4 separate regions of the Homo sapiens genome follow, and all the other regions are linked to region 1. Evidence: promoter capture Hi-C in 16 types of primary human blood cells and fetal thymus (Javierre and others, 2016). All regions are on one chromosome and are shown on one strand. Each heading gives the region's core, a stretch centred on a gene start or on the middle of the fragment in contact. The rest is flanking DNA. Distances are from core to core; before and after follow the strand shown. Region 1 holds the start of NR2F2 (nuclear receptor subfamily 2 group F member 2). Region 2 overlaps LINC02253 (long intergenic non-protein coding RNA 2253). Region 3 has its middle 8.6 kb from the start of LINC02253. Region 4 has its middle 300 kb from the start of LINC00924.

Region 1 (3,683 bases), core at 205-2,704:
GGGCACCTCGTCCTGGGGGTCGCGCCACGTGCTGACTACCATTGCCATATCTATGGGGGCTGCGTCCGGACTTCCTGCTCCCCTGGCTGCGGGCGGCGGCGGGGCGGCGGCGGCTCCCCGGGTCTCGGGCTCCGGCGCGCCGCCTTTTGTGTGTGCGAGGGTGCAAGAGGGCGCGGGAGGGCGCCCCGGGTGGCTCGGGGGCTGGTTGGTTGAGGTTGGTTAGTTTTTCCTTTTTTGTTTTTGCTTTTGCAAAGTTTTGTCGATGGCTTGTCTGGCCCGGTGTGTTTGTTTTGTTTGTTTCTCTCGGCTCAGCTTTGTTGGTTTCGGGGGGCTTTCCGCCGGGAGGGGAGGGGAAGGGGACAGGAGAGCGAGTGGGAGCAGAACGTGGAGAAAGAGGGAGGGGAGGGAGAGCTGAAGTCGATTGTCTGGCTTCAAGACAGAAGTAGGAGGCAAAAAAAAAAATCTCTCCAAAGATCTCGCTCGCTCTCACTCTCTCCCTCCCTCTCTCGTTCACTCTCGCTCTTAGAGCTGGTGTGCAGCCGAGGAGTTGGCGGAGGAGGAGGAGGAGGAGGAGGAGGAAGAGGAGGTGGTGGTGAAGGAGGAGGTAGAGGAGGAGGAGAGGCGACTGTCCGGGGGCCAAGTCCAGGGCAGCCCACAGTCAGCCATTCAGGAAAGCCATCGAAATCAGGAGGACTAGGAGATCGGAGGCGCCGGGTGCGGGCGCGCCCAGGGAGCCAGGCAGGCCGGGGCGGAGGCCGGCGGCCCGCGGAGTGGCCGGAGCGCTGCCCGGGTCCGGGGGAATCAGCATGAAAGTGGTCCGCGTCGGGCGCTGCGCGGCGTCGTCCTGGCGCTGGGCCGCCGCCGCCGCCGCCTGCCCCGGGCGTCCGGCGCGCGCCTCGCTCTCTCCGGCCGCCGCCGCCCGCAGTCGCTGGGTGGAGGCCGCTCGCCGTTCCCTGCGGGCCGCCCGGGCCGCCGCTGCCGCCGGAGCCGCCGCCGAAGCCGCCGGGTCGGGCCCGGAGCCGCTGCGTCTAGCGCCGCCGCCGCCGCTGAAGTCGCTGCTGCCGCTGCTGCCGCCGCCGGAGCCGCTGCTGCTGCTGCTGCCGCCGCCGCCTCACACACATAGGGAAAGAGTCAACTCGCCGGCGGCGGGGGAGAAATGATAAAAGAGAGAGAGGAGGGCAGATCACCACCTAGAAGCACATCCTTCGTGCGCAGAGGGGGGAGAAAAAGACGGAGAGAAAGAATGAAAGAGGGGAAAAAAGGCAGTACGGCACCCGGAGAAAGGAGGCAACTCGGGGAGAGGAGGAGGAGAAGAAGAAAACACACACGCGCGCACGCACACACACACCGCGGAGAGAAAAGAACAGAGAATCAAAGTGATCAAATATGCTAAAAAGGGGGGCGCGGGAGGGAATGCGATTTATAGGCGCCGGGGCTGGCAGAAGTGGCTTCTCCGCGATCAGCTCACTGAGCTCTCTATATAGTGAACTTTGACACGACTGCTGCAACTTAGCGCACGTTGCCATGGCGACGGCGCGCCTTATAAGGCAGCAGCCGGGGTTGGCCTGGCCAGGCGCGCGCGCGCCGCCCCCTCGCCGTCATTGGCCGGACTGCGGCGGCCCCGCCATGGCGGCCGCGGGCGCAGCCCGGTCCTAGCGCGAGCGGCGTCGCCGGCGCGGCGCGGGGCACGCGGGGGACCGGGGGTTGGGGGGGCGGGGACGGGGTGGCCGCGCCGCCGCCGCCGCCGCCGCCGAGAGGGGGATGGGCCCGTGCTGGCCCTGCGAGCGCTGCCTCTGCTCTCCCCACATCCCGCACCCGAGGTTTCCGCCCCGGCGGGGAGACTAGCGCAGCGCGCACACACAACGTCTCTTAAAGGCTCCGCGAGAGGCTTTGGATGGAATCGGGGAGTTTGCCTCTCGCAACTTGGCGATGTCACGAATTCCGCCGCTCGCGCACCACCCGGGACTCCTGGCGCATCTTAGTACCCACAATGCCAAAGAAAAGTTCCCTGGTTTCTTTGCAGAGGGATAGGGAGTGAGGGTGGGAAGGTGCCACGAACTGAGCTTGTAGGCATTTTCCAAACGAAAGAGTTGGCCAGATCCGGGTGATGGCAAACCCTTCTCTTAATTAACTCTGATCACTTGTTCGGTTTGGTGACATATATATATGACATATATTCTTTTCAGAGGATAAAGGCCGTTCTGTTTCTGTTTATTCCTTGTAGGGTTAACATTTCACAGGTATGTGGCCTGACATTTTAATTGCCCAAATAAAGCATCTCGGATGCTGAGAAGCAGAAATAGACTTCATCTGATTGTCATGATGCAATTAGAATCAATTTTCCTCAACTTTACCCTCTCTCGCTGGTTTTAGCTAACTCTCCAGCCAACATCCTGCCACACACCCAGTCATGGTGAGAGGGGAAAGACCTCTGCCCACTGATGGACAGGAGGAGGCAGCCGCCCAGCCTCCCCTGTGCACACCCTCTGTACACACATGTAAGCGCACATGTATCAGATGCACATTTGTCAATGTACACAGACAAAGACTTCACCGACTATGCTTCTAGGTCATAGAACAGTTGAGTACGGACTTCATTGTTCCTCAAGTTCCTTTTAAGCATTCATATAGTCATTAAAACGCACCCAGAGATTCTGCCCCAAATGGGAAATAATACTAGTACAGGTCACAAGAACCAAACCCAAGCCATATTCTACCTCAAGAAGTCACTGCAAAAAGAACAACTTCATAGCCTATTGCCATTCTGCTCCATGTGCTAAAATAATTGAGACAGTTGTGTCTTTGAATTCCAGGGTGTCTGGTTTTAAACATCAAACATGTAGAATTGCTCTCAGAACACACTATATTCCAACGCAGTAAACTTGTTGTTTATGACCAGTTAGTGAATTATCATTATTCCACATTTATACAAGAAAATTGTGTCTCCTTTGTACACACTTTGCACCAAGAAAAAACCTCATGCCGGTAAACCAACCAGGTTTGTGAACAATTAAAATATTTTACACAAAAGACGCTGAGCTCCAGGAAAGAAATGAACACATATGAAGAGTAAATTGATGACCACAGAAAACATCCTTGGTAGCTGAAAAAAAAATTGACAGGGTAAAGATATTTTAAAAATAAACCATACATATAATTGACATGCATAGATCACATTTTACATTCAATTCTCTTTACACACATAGGCAGAATATGAGGTAAGGACTAAAGATCTGGGCAGATAGGGGCTGGTTTTTAGGAAAGGAAAAATCTTCTTTAAGCTTCATTCCCGAAACCTCAGCCCTCACTCTTTCTCCGATGAAATCACGTATTTCACTAAAGCTGCAGGTTCTCGGTTTATTTGAAAGTTGTTAAAAAAAAAAAAAAAAGCCCAGCAAACCTATAGTGGACACTGAACTATCATAAACCTGGTGTGTAATAAGATTGCCACAGAATGAAGCCAAGCTGAGAATTTCAGGTTAATTAGAGACACAATATAACTTTCTCCTAAAGAGGATAAGAAGGATGGAAAAGAAATCATTACACAGGAGAAGGTTTTTGGTAGTTGTTGTTGTTTTCCCTTCCAACCTCTATGATTCAGGAATTGCTAATGTTACAAATGTCAGCAGATTCGGGACAAGCTCAGCTGAGATGTGATGAGACTGGGGTTGAGATAGGAAATC
Region 2 (3,683 bases), core at 438-2,937, 910 kb before region 1:
CTCCCACCCAGGAACTGACTCAGCGCAAGAAGACAGCTTTGACTCCCTAAGATTTCATCCCTGAACAATCAGCACTCCCGGCTCACCGGCTTCCCCCAATCCACCACGTAATCCTTAAAAACTCTGCTCCCCTAATGCTTGGGGAGATTGATTTGAGTATTTAAACAATTCTGGTCTCTCACACACACACAAAGAAAAAAAGAAAATCGAGGTTGCAAAGAATAAGTGACCTCTGGATATTTTTGTTCACTTCTAGTTCCTTATCATGTTTATTAAGATGTTATTTTAAATATAACTATAGCATTATTAAACTGGATATTTCCTCAGAAAAATATTTAATGTGAACTTAAGTGATACTTCTGAAGCAGTGGAATTCTGGTTTCTTTCACTATATTTGATACACTAAGATGAACATTTTCTCCATATTTACAGAAATAATCTGGTTTGTACTCAAACTACATTCTCAAAACAAAGCAGAATATAAAATGGATTTTTTAAATAAGTAAATGTGTAGTATTTTTTCAAGTTTCTATTTCAGGAATCTATTTCCAAATCCATTAATGAAGTGAATATATTTCTCTAAAAATATTTAAAATATTCCTATATAAATTGTAACCTGAAGCAACTAATCATCTTCTAATTTAGCTTAAAGAAAAAAATACAGGAATAGAAAACGTGTGTGTGTGTGTGTGTGTGTGTGTGTGTGTGTGTGTGTGTGATTTTTGGAAGGTTGTCCAAGAGACTGGTATTTTTTTCACCTGACTCAGAGTACTGATATAGAACCAAAATACTTTGGATAACTGGTAGCCACTTAGTACAAAAGAGAGTTCAGTGGCTTCTTGCAGTGCCAGAAGTGCCAGTACTTGTCACACTGTAGACAAAGGCCAAAACAGCTCACCACAATTGGGAAAAAGTATCCTGCTAATGACTTTTACAATGAGATGGAAAGAGAAGAATCGAATATATGTCCAATTTTTTAGCTTTTTAAGAGGCTACCTAAGGGACTGATTTTTGTCTCATGTGACTTAGGGCACTGATGAGGAGCTGTCATAGTTTGAATGCCTGGGGACTGCAAAGAACAAAAGAGAGCTTGGCATATAGTTCTGGAGAACCTGCAGTACCACAGACAGACACAAGAGAGAGCAAGAGCCCACAAACTCCTAAAAAAGAAACCAGCAAATCTCTCTAATCTGGAAATTACATGCACAAGCTCAGAGAAAATGCATTTCCATAACATGTTTGAGAGGCCCTCTGAATCTCTAGTCATGCTGACTGATGAAGGTATTCCCCTGTATGAAATCAGTCTGTAAAAACTCGAAGTGTTAGTTGTTTTTTCAAATAAAAAAATTACAACAAAAAATAAGAAGACACATGAAGAAACAGGAGAACATGACCCAATTAACGGAACAAACTAAATCTCTAGAAACTGACTCTAAAGAAATTGATATTTACAAACTATCTAAAAAAGAATTCAAAATCATTGCTTTACAGAAGCTCAGTGTGCTGCAAGAGAATGCCAGATAGACAACTAAATGAAATCAGAAAAACCACAAATGAGCAAAATGAGAATATGTACAGAGATAGAAACTACATGAGAAAAAGCGAAGTAATTTTAGAGCTGGAAAATAAAATAGGTGAATTGAAAAATTCACTACAGCAGATCAACAGCAGATCTCACAAAGCAAAAAAAAAAAAAAGTCAGTAAACTCTAACACAGGTCATTTGAAATTATCAAGTCATAATAATAAAAAGAAAAAAGAATGAAGAAAAGTAAAGAAAGTCTAATTGATGTACCAGCACCCACGAGCAGACCAATATACACATTATGTGAGAGTCTGAAAGAGAAGAGAGAAAGATTAGAGCAGAGAGTTTATTTGAAGAAATAATGGCCAAAATTATCTGAAATGTGAGGAAGAAAACAGACCACATTAAATTCAAGAAGCTCAAATAACTTTAACTAAGAAAAACCCAAATAGGTACAAATCAAGACACATTATATTCAGACTGACAAAAGTGAAAGGAGAGACTTGAAACTAGTAAGAGAAAAGCAACTCATCACATGAAAGGAGCTGCCATAAGATTATCAGTGGGTTTTTTAGCAGAGACTTTAGAGGCCGAAGTGAGTGGGACGATACATTCAAAAGGCAAAAATAAATAAAAATTGCAGCCAAACATAAAAACTGTATCTGTCAAAACTATCTTTCATAAACCAAAAAGAAATAACTTCCCAGATGAACAAAAGTGGAGGGAGTTCATCACTACCAGACCTACATAAAAACTACCAAAGACAGTCCTTGGCGTTGAACAAAAAGGACACTATGTAGCAACATAAAAGCACAGAAAAACATAAAGCTCTCTGGTAAAGCCAAATATAGAGATAAATACAGAATTCTATAATATTGTAATGGTGTTGCATACAGCACTTTTAATTCAAGTAAAAAATGTAAGCAATATAAGCATAACTACAACTGTAAAACAATGTTAATGAATACAAAATATTTTTTAAAATGTAATTTGTAACATCAGTAACAAGTATGTGGTAAGGAGATCTGAAAGAGTAGTTTTGTATATAATTGTAGCTAAGCGGTTCTCATTTTAAAATAGATTGCTACAATTCTCGATGTTGTATGGGATCCCCATGATAACTACAAAGAAGATACTTATAGAAGATGAACAAAATCAATTAAGAAAGAAATAAAAGCATGACACTACAAAGGATCAATGAACCCAAGGGAAGACAGCAAGAGAGAACAAGAGGGACCAAACTAATACCATACATACAGAAGACAATTAACAAAATGGAAATAATAATTCAGTAATTAAGTATAAATGGGTTAAACTCATCAATCAAAAGACACAGTGTAGCTAAATAAATTTTTAAAAAATCAAGATCCAACTATATGTTGTTTATAAAAGACTGACTTTAAATAAAAAAGACATGCATAGGTTGAAAACAAGAAGATGGAAGATTTTTCCATGCAAATTTTAATCAAAAGAGAGGAGGGTTGGCAATACTTATATCAGACAGAATAGGCCTTAAGTCAAAAACTATCACAAGAGACAAAGAAGTACAATATATTGTTATAAAGGTTTAATTCACCAGGAAGATATAACAATTGTAACTATATATGCACCTAATAGCAGAGCACTTATATATATGAAGCAAACATTGACAGAAATAGAGAGATATATAGACAGCAACATAATAATTGTAGGAAATTTTAATACCCTGTTTTCAATAAGAGATAGGCCAACCAGAGAGATCAACAAGAAAATAGACGACTTGAACAACACTATGAACAAATTAGACCAACAGACATATATAGAACACTAAACCCGAAGTTTGCAGAGGAAGGAAATAATGAAGAATAGAGCAGAAATAAACTCAACAAAGAATAGAAAAACAATTTAAAAATCCATAAAATGAAGTGTGTTCTTTGAAAAGTTTAACAAAACTGGCAGATTTTTAGCTGGACTACAAGTAGAGACCCAGTTAGCAAAAGTTAGAAATAAAAGAGGAAACATTACAACCAATGCAAAAGAAAGAAAAGGGATCATAAGAGACAACTATATGAACAATAGTAGGCCAACAAATTAAATAACATAGAATAAATGGATACATTTATAGAAACATACAACCAACCAAGACTGAATCATGAAGAGATAAAAATAAAAAATCTATA
Region 3 (3,683 bases), core at 381-2,880, 900 kb before region 1:
TGTCCCCCATCTTAGCTAGAAACACTAATGGTTCAGTCTTTAACCGTTAAGCTTGATGTCAGCTGTGAAGCATTTTTAATAGATATTTTTATTAAATTGAGAAGTTCCATTTTATAACCAATTTGCAGAATGATTGTTAAATTGGTAAATTGTTGAATGTGTGTTAAACTTTGTAATATGCTTCCTTAATCTATTAAAAGGATACTATTTTTGTTTGTTATTCTATCAATATGGTACATTACATTAATTTTTTTGGATGCTAAACTAAGCTTTGATTCCTAGAGTAAACCTCACTTGTCATGATATATGATGCTTTTTTAATATGTTGCTCGATTTCTCACTAATTTTTTTAAAAGATACCTGTGTTTCTGTTTATAAGGGTTCCTGGTCTGCAGTTTTATTTTATTGTGGTGTCTTCATCAGGCCTCAGTTTCAGAGTAATCGTGAGTCCTTAGAATGAGTTGGGACAGGTTTTCTCTACCTCTATCATCTGAAAGAGCTTGTAAAAGATTGGTTTGGTTTAAATATTTTATTGTATTCACCAAAGAAATCTTCTGAGCCTGAAATTTTTGGGAGAGAGGGATATTTGTTATTACATACTTTCTATGCTTGTTATCAGTATATTCAAATGTTCTATTTCTTCATAAGTCAATTTTGGTAATTTGCGTCTCTTAAGGCACGTGCCATTTTATCTCTCCTAATTTTCTGACATATCAAAATATAAAATATGAAGAAATGTTCATCATATTCCCTTATAATCATATTCATTTGTTAGAGTTAATGATGATATCCATTTTTTCATTCCTAGTTTTGATAAGTTATGTCTTCTTTCTTTTTTCTGTTAGTTTAGCTAAAGGATGATCAATTTTCTTGAAATTTTAAGAAACCAATTTCTGAGTTAATTGATTTTCTTCATTTTTTTCTTTTCTTTTATTATTCTTTTTACTCTACTTGTCTTAAGTTTAGTTTTCTACTTTTTTTCTAATTATTTAAGGTGGAAGCTTAGATGATTACTTTGAGACTTTTCTTGGCTAATATAAGCATTTGAAACAGAAAAGTCCCATCTAAGTTCTACTTAGCTGTGTCCCATAATTTTTCATACAATGTACTTTCATTTTTATTCAGTTCAAAATATTTTTTAATTTTCTATAGGCTTTCTTCTTTGACCCATAAGTTACTTAGAAGTAGATTATTTAAATGTGCAAGTATTTGGATACGTTCCAGACTTCCTTCTTTGCGGGGCGTCGGGGTGCGGGGGCAGAGACAGAGTCTCTGTCTCCCAGGCGGGAGTACACTGACACGATCTTGTCTCACTGCAGCTTCTGCCTTCCAGGTTCAAGCGATTTTCGTGCCTCAGCCTCGCCGAGTAGCTGGGACTACAGGTGCGCGTGCCACCACTGTGCCCAGCTAATTTTTGTATGTTTAGTAGAGACGGGGTTTTGCCATGTTGCCCAGGCTTGTCTCTAACTCCTGACCTCAAGCGATCTGCCCGCCTCAGCTTCCCAAAGTGCTGGGATTACAGGCATGAGCCACAGTGCCCAGCCCAGATTTCCTTCTGTTTTTGATTTTTAACTTAATTACATTATAATCAGATATTACATTTTGTGAAATTTTAATGTTTTGAAAATCATTGAGACTTATTCTGTGGCCTAGTGTATGATACATCCTGAATAATATATTCTGTGTGCATAAAATATTATAATCTATATGGTCTCTCTCTAGAGAGTTTTATATATGCCTGTTAGGTCAGATTTGTTGAAACTGTTGATAAGATGTTTTATATTTTTGCTCATTTTATCCATAGGTATGCTATCAATTATTTTCAATGGGATGCTGAAGTCTCCCAGCATTAAAATTGAAATGACTATTTTTAATTTGATTTTGTCATAATTTATTTCATATATTTTGAGGCTCTGTTATAATTGTTTTCCTCATACATTAAACTATTAGCAAAATATATTTTTTGACTCCAATATTTTGGTGTCTAGTATTTACTATCTCACTATAATTGATTCTGATATTACTATAATCACTCTCTCTTATGTGTACTGAAGTTTGTTACTGCTTTTGTTGATGTATTTGTTTCTTTAACTTTCCTAGGCTAAATCTGAAATTTCTCTCCCCTATATTATGTGGTTTCTGATACCTCTGCTCATTTTCATTCTTGTTCTACCCTGGAGCTTCCCCATGTTGATAGCGCTTAGTGATCAGCCACCGCAGGGGATCTACATGTGGCTAGGGGAACGTGTTCAAAGCTTCAGCCACGGTGATGTCTGTCTCACCTTATCTTCTCTGCTCAGCCCTTTCACTTCTTCTCTATGCATGTACACACTCCAAGGTTGGACAAGACTATGTGGATAGTTTGGGTACCCTCTCATCTCCATGGCATATGCATCAACCAGGGATGTGCTTACCACAACCACAACCCCAAACTGGTAGAGCCGCTGTCCCTCTGTGTCCGGAATTGGTGGGTTCTTGGTCTGGCTGACTTCAAGGATGAAACCGCAGACCCTCGCGGTGAGTGCTACAGTTCTTAAAGATGCTGTGTCCAGAGTTTGTGCCTTCAGATGTTCAGATACGTCTGGAGTTTCTTCCTTCGGGTGGGTTCGTGGTCCCGCTGATTGGTGCGTTTAAAATCCCTGAGCTAAACAGAGTGCTGATTGGTGCATTTACCTCCTTTAGCTAGACACAAAAGTTCTCCAAGTCCCCACTGGATTAGCTAGACACAGAGCACTGACTGGTGCCTATACAATCTTCCAGCTAGACATGAAAGTTCTCCAAGTCCTCAGTCTCAAAAAAAAAAAAAAAAAGTTTTCCAAGTCCTCACCTGACTCAGGAGCCCAGCTGGCTTCGCCTAGTGGATTCCGCGCCGGGGCCGCGGGTGGAGCTGCTTGCCACTCCAGCGCGGTGCACGCGCACTCCTCAGCCCTTGGGTGGTCGATGGGACCCGGGGCCGCAGAGCACGGGGTGGCGCCCGTTGGGGAGGCTGGGGCCACGCGGAAGCCCATGCGGGGTCTGGGGGCTTGGGCATGGCGGGCTGCAGGTCCCAAGCGCTGTCCCGTGGGTAGGCGGCTAAGGCCCGGCAAGAATTCAAGCGCGGCGCAGGAGAGCCGGTAGTGCTGGGGGTCCCGGGACACCCTCCGCAGCTGCTGGTCCGGGTGCTAAGCCCCTCACTGCCTGGGGCCAGTGTCACCGGCCAGCGGCTCCAAGTGCGGGGCCCGCCCAGCCCGTGCCCACCCGGAACTCGCGCTGGCCCGCCAGCGCCGGGCACAGCCCCCGTTCCCACCCGCGCCTCTTCCGCCACACCTCTCCGCAAGCAGAGGGAGCCGGCTCCGGCCTCGGCCAGCCCAGAGAGGGGCTCCCACAGTGCAGCTGGGGGCTGAAGGGCTCCTCAAGCGAGGCCAGAGTGGGCGCAGAGAGCGAGTGAGGGCTGCGAACACACTGTCACCTCTCACCGCCTGCTTACCTACCACTGAGATTGTTCCTGCCACTGTCAGTGATGCTGAATGAGTGCTTCAACAACTGTTGGGAAAGGAGAAAACCCATTTAGCTATGTCAGAAGATCTGCCAGTCCTCACTGTCTGTTTCACTGTGGTAGAACCTTCACACCGGAAGAACTAGGATGGGAACATCTCCAGGTAAGAAACTCACAGATTCACACTTTTACTTCTTTTACTTGCAAT
Region 4 (3,683 bases), core at 608-3,107, 600 kb after region 1:
AATGACCAAAGCCCCTTGCTTATTGTAAAGGCTAACTATCCTTAAGTAGCTGAATAATTGAAGAGTCATTAGATGAGGAGCAAGGAGGAATTAACACTTTTGAGCACTTATTATTTTCCAGGCACACCGCCAAGCATTTCACATTTGCCCTTTATTACTTTCTCAGAATAGTCCTGGGGGTGGGTCATCTTCCTCACAATTTATGTATGTGAACACCAAGACTCTAAGTTCGGTGCCTTGCCTAGAGTCAGCCCACTGGTGAGGAGCAGGCTGCACAGTCCATGCTCACCATTGAGTCACACTGCATTGACTAAACAATGCTTACAGCAGAAATGTGTACACCGTTGTTCCCTAACAGCCAGTTCTACATGGAGTGGCCAGAGTAATTTTGGTAAAATATAAAGGAGATAACAGCAGTCTCAGGTTCTAAACCTGGCAATGGCTTTATGTTGCACTTGGGATAAAATCCACATTGTTAAGCCCAGTCTACATTGCCTGGCTCTCTCTGGTTCCTGATTATCTCTTGATATGGTTTGAATTTGTGTCCCCACCCAAATCTCATGTCAAATTTGAGGAGGGGTCTGGAGGGAGGTGATTGGATCATGGGGGTGGATTTCCCCTTGCCGTTCTTGTGGTAGTGAGTGAGTTCTCATGAGATCTGATGGTTTAAAAGTGTGTGGCACTTCCCCCTTCACTCTCTGTCTCCTGCTGCCATGTGAAGAAGGTGTTCGCTTCCCCTTTACCATCAGCCATGATTGTAAGTTTCCTGAGGCCTGCTTCCTGTTAGGTCTGTGAAACTGTGAGTCAATTAAGCCTCTTTTCTTCATAAATTACCCAGTCTCAGGTAGTTCTTTATAGCAGTGTGAGAATGGACTAATACATCTCTATCACCTATATCCTACCTGACAGATCTCTCTTCCTCATATGTTGGCTCTCTCAAGCCCCAACCACAGTATTCTTTGTATTAGTCTTCTCCTGTCTCAGGTTAGTTTGTCCTCTCTTTCTGAAATATTATTCCTCCAGTTCATTGCCTGGATTTCTCCTTTACCTCATTAAGATCTCAGATACATTACCTCTTCCAAGACGACTTCCTTGACCATTCCTATCTATAGTAGACCTTTCCCCTCTTTTACTGTCTATCCCTGTATCCTGCCTTGGTTTTCTTCTTAGAATTTAATCAGGACCAGACACCACTTCGTGCAGGTATTTGATAGTTTGTATGGTTCCATCACTGTCCTGCAAGTTCTGAAGTTCAGGGACTTCTCACATCTTATTTATTTCTGTATCCCCAGCACCTAGAACAGTGTCTGGCACTTTGTAGGTTCTCAATAACTCATTAAATAAATATCCAATAACCTACCATTCCATTAGGGCCATCTGAGCGATTGGGAGCTGGCTTCAGTCTTGATGATTAATTGGATTGTTCATTTTCATATACAATAAAGGGTGTCATGTAGGTTTCATAGAACCATATCATTTGAACATCTAATCAGGACATATGGTCCAAGGAAGTGTAGTTTTATTTAATGGGAGAGAAGTTTTGAGATAGATTGTCTATGAGAAAGCTTAAGGTCTAAAGTGGCTGTTTCATTGCTCAGCATTTTTGCAAGGGGAATAGATGTCACAGTGTCATTCTCCTTGATTCAATTACATCAGGATATAAGGTAAGAAGCCACATTTTAAAAAGGAAACTAACATGTAATGAGCGATGAACAGTCACTGCTCCATGTACCTTACATATATTTCCTCATTTAGTTTCCATAAGATAGATATTCTTCTCCCCAACCAACAGATAAGTCAAGTGCCTTGTGGTTGAAGCACTTGGCCACAGTAATACCTGCTCCGATTGGTAGAGCTAACATTGGTACATATGACTGTCTAGTCCTGAAGCCAGAGCACAAAAAATGGGAACTCATCCAAACCCACACATCTCTTTATCAGATATCCCCACTCCATTCACTTTCCCCAAAGTCACACCCCAATTCCAGCACCTCCCCTTCCCCTCCAATACACAAAAGTACACACACACAACAAAGCAACCTCAAATCTATGGAGGACAGCCAAGGATTTGAGGCTGAGGTTTCCTGTGCCAAGCACTCTCCCACTAAGCTGGGAATATAACACCTTCTTTTGACTTCAGTAAAGCTTCAACACAAATCTTAAACCTCATACACTCCTTTTAATCTGATTGTTACCATCCTGTGCAGTGGCAAAGTAAAGAAAGGACGTGCTTTTAAAATGGGGACACTAAGAAGATATAAGTAGGATACACAAAACACACACTTAGAGCAATTCTCAATGGGGTTAATGCATGATCTCTCCTGACCACACTTCCTCCTTCCTGTCTCCCTCTTCCTGTGCAGTAATAAGTAAATAAATGAACCAACAAGCCGCACTCTCCTATGTTTTCTTTTGAGAGAATAATATAACCTAAAAGTTTAATTGTTTCATTTTGCCCCCGCTGAGGAAAGCAAGTGCACCTACTTATGAGTCACACAGAGAGGCGATTCCTTTATATATATGATTTCATTTGTCTTTACCATGGGCCTTTAAATGCAGGCATTAATGATAAAGAGAATGCAGCTCAGAGGGAGTTCACTTAAGATGAAACAGCCAGTAAATAACTCAACTGGGATTCAAATTCAAATACGATGATTTCAACATCCACATTTTTCCACTTTCTTCTAATATGCAATAAATAAGTAAGCACATGTAGGTTGGGGCATAGAAAGTTGACTTTTTAAATTTGTTTAATTTTAATAAAACTCAGGCTACAGTTAAAAAAAAAAAAAGGAGGCAGAGAGTGGTAAAGATGGCTGCCTTGGGCACACATGGTGTCACCAGGACACGTGTTGAGATGACATCTCAACAGCTTGTTGGAAGGCAGATATTTCTGTATTTTACCTGCTGCCTGACCCACTCATGCAGGCCGGCAGTAGTTGACACAATCAAGCAATGAACTGCCTGACAGGAAGTAGCTTCTGTGCACTTCTATGCTCTCTGACTGGGAGAGGGGACTTCCTGGTGAGTAAAGCTAACAGCAGATGAATTAGTGCTTTTTACCAGCAGGAGTTGTGGACCCCTTCGTTTCTGAGGTGAAACCACCAAATACCAACTCAATCATGTCAGTGCTGTGACACCTCTTTGTCACAGGTTGACATGGGGTTTCTGAGGGGAAAGCTGGAAAAAAGCGGATATGAAATAAATGTTTATCAAAGCACATAGGGGAATAAAAGACTCAATTCTTTCTTTTCTCAAAATTACCTGAGGTGACAGACCACCAGGGAGCTGAACAGTGCAGAAAGTTGGGAACTTGGTTAATTCTATCGCGTGGCTGACTGAAACCTACACGCCGCCCTCCAAAGAACCACGCAGCCATCAACAGTCTAGTTTTCCTTCCAAGTGGCTGACATGGAAAATCAGACACAATGTGCTTCCCTGAATGCCCCAGATTCAGACAGACAACTTGAAAACATAACTTACAGATTCATTTCTGTCTCAATTTTAAATGAGGGCTATTTGAGACATTAAAAAAATTTTTTTCCCTTCCCATTTTTTTTATGAGATGAATGAGCTCAGTCGTGAGCTTAATTCTTATTTCTGGTATAGAGATTCTAGTATAACTGTCTTGTAGAGTTAACTTCAGAGTCGACTCTTTTCCTTCCTCAACTTCACGCAGTATG

What was found. Contacts are between HindIII fragments. The CHiCAGO score rates a contact against its expected background, and 5 or more counts as called.
Region 2: a fragment that was not itself captured here is called in contact with the fragment with the promoter of NR2F2 in region 1 in 1 of 17 cell types (M2 macrophages); the score reaches 6.2 in M2 macrophages.
Region 3: a contact is called between a fragment that was not itself captured here and the fragment with the promoter of NR2F2 in region 1, in 3 of 17 cell types (M1 macrophages, M0 macrophages and M2 macrophages). The highest score is 6.5, in M1 macrophages.
Region 4: a contact is called between a fragment that was not itself captured here and the fragment with the promoter of NR2F2 in region 1, in 1 of 17 cell types (endothelial precursors). The highest score is 6.3, in endothelial precursors.

The regions. Positions count from the first base shown.
Region 1 is chr15:96,328,471-96,332,153 of GRCh38, reverse strand. NR2F2 (nuclear receptor subfamily 2 group F member 2) reads right to left here and starts at 1,454. Exons shown (of 3, transcript NM_021005.4): 1 at 1-1,454. The coding sequence starts at 48. RefSeq lists a silencer at 1,562-1,701. The HindIII fragment of the contact is 6,805 bases long and covers 1-3,283 here.
Region 2 is chr15:97,243,412-97,247,094 of GRCh38, reverse strand. The region is part of intron 2 of LINC02253 (long intergenic non-protein coding RNA 2253); the gene reads right to left. Among named protein-coding and RNA genes, the nearest start is that of LINC02253, 11 kb to the right of the region's middle. The HindIII fragment of the contact is 8,464 bases long and covers 1-3,683 here.
Region 3 is chr15:97,223,862-97,227,544 of GRCh38, reverse strand. No RefSeq gene overlaps it. Among named protein-coding and RNA genes, the nearest start is that of LINC02253, 8.6 kb to the left of the region's middle. The HindIII fragment of the contact is 1,254 bases long and covers 1,004-2,257 here.
Region 4 is chr15:95,733,417-95,737,099 of GRCh38, reverse strand. No RefSeq gene overlaps it. Among named protein-coding and RNA genes, the nearest start is that of LINC00924, 300 kb to the right of the region's middle. The HindIII fragment of the contact is 580 bases long and covers 1,568-2,147 here.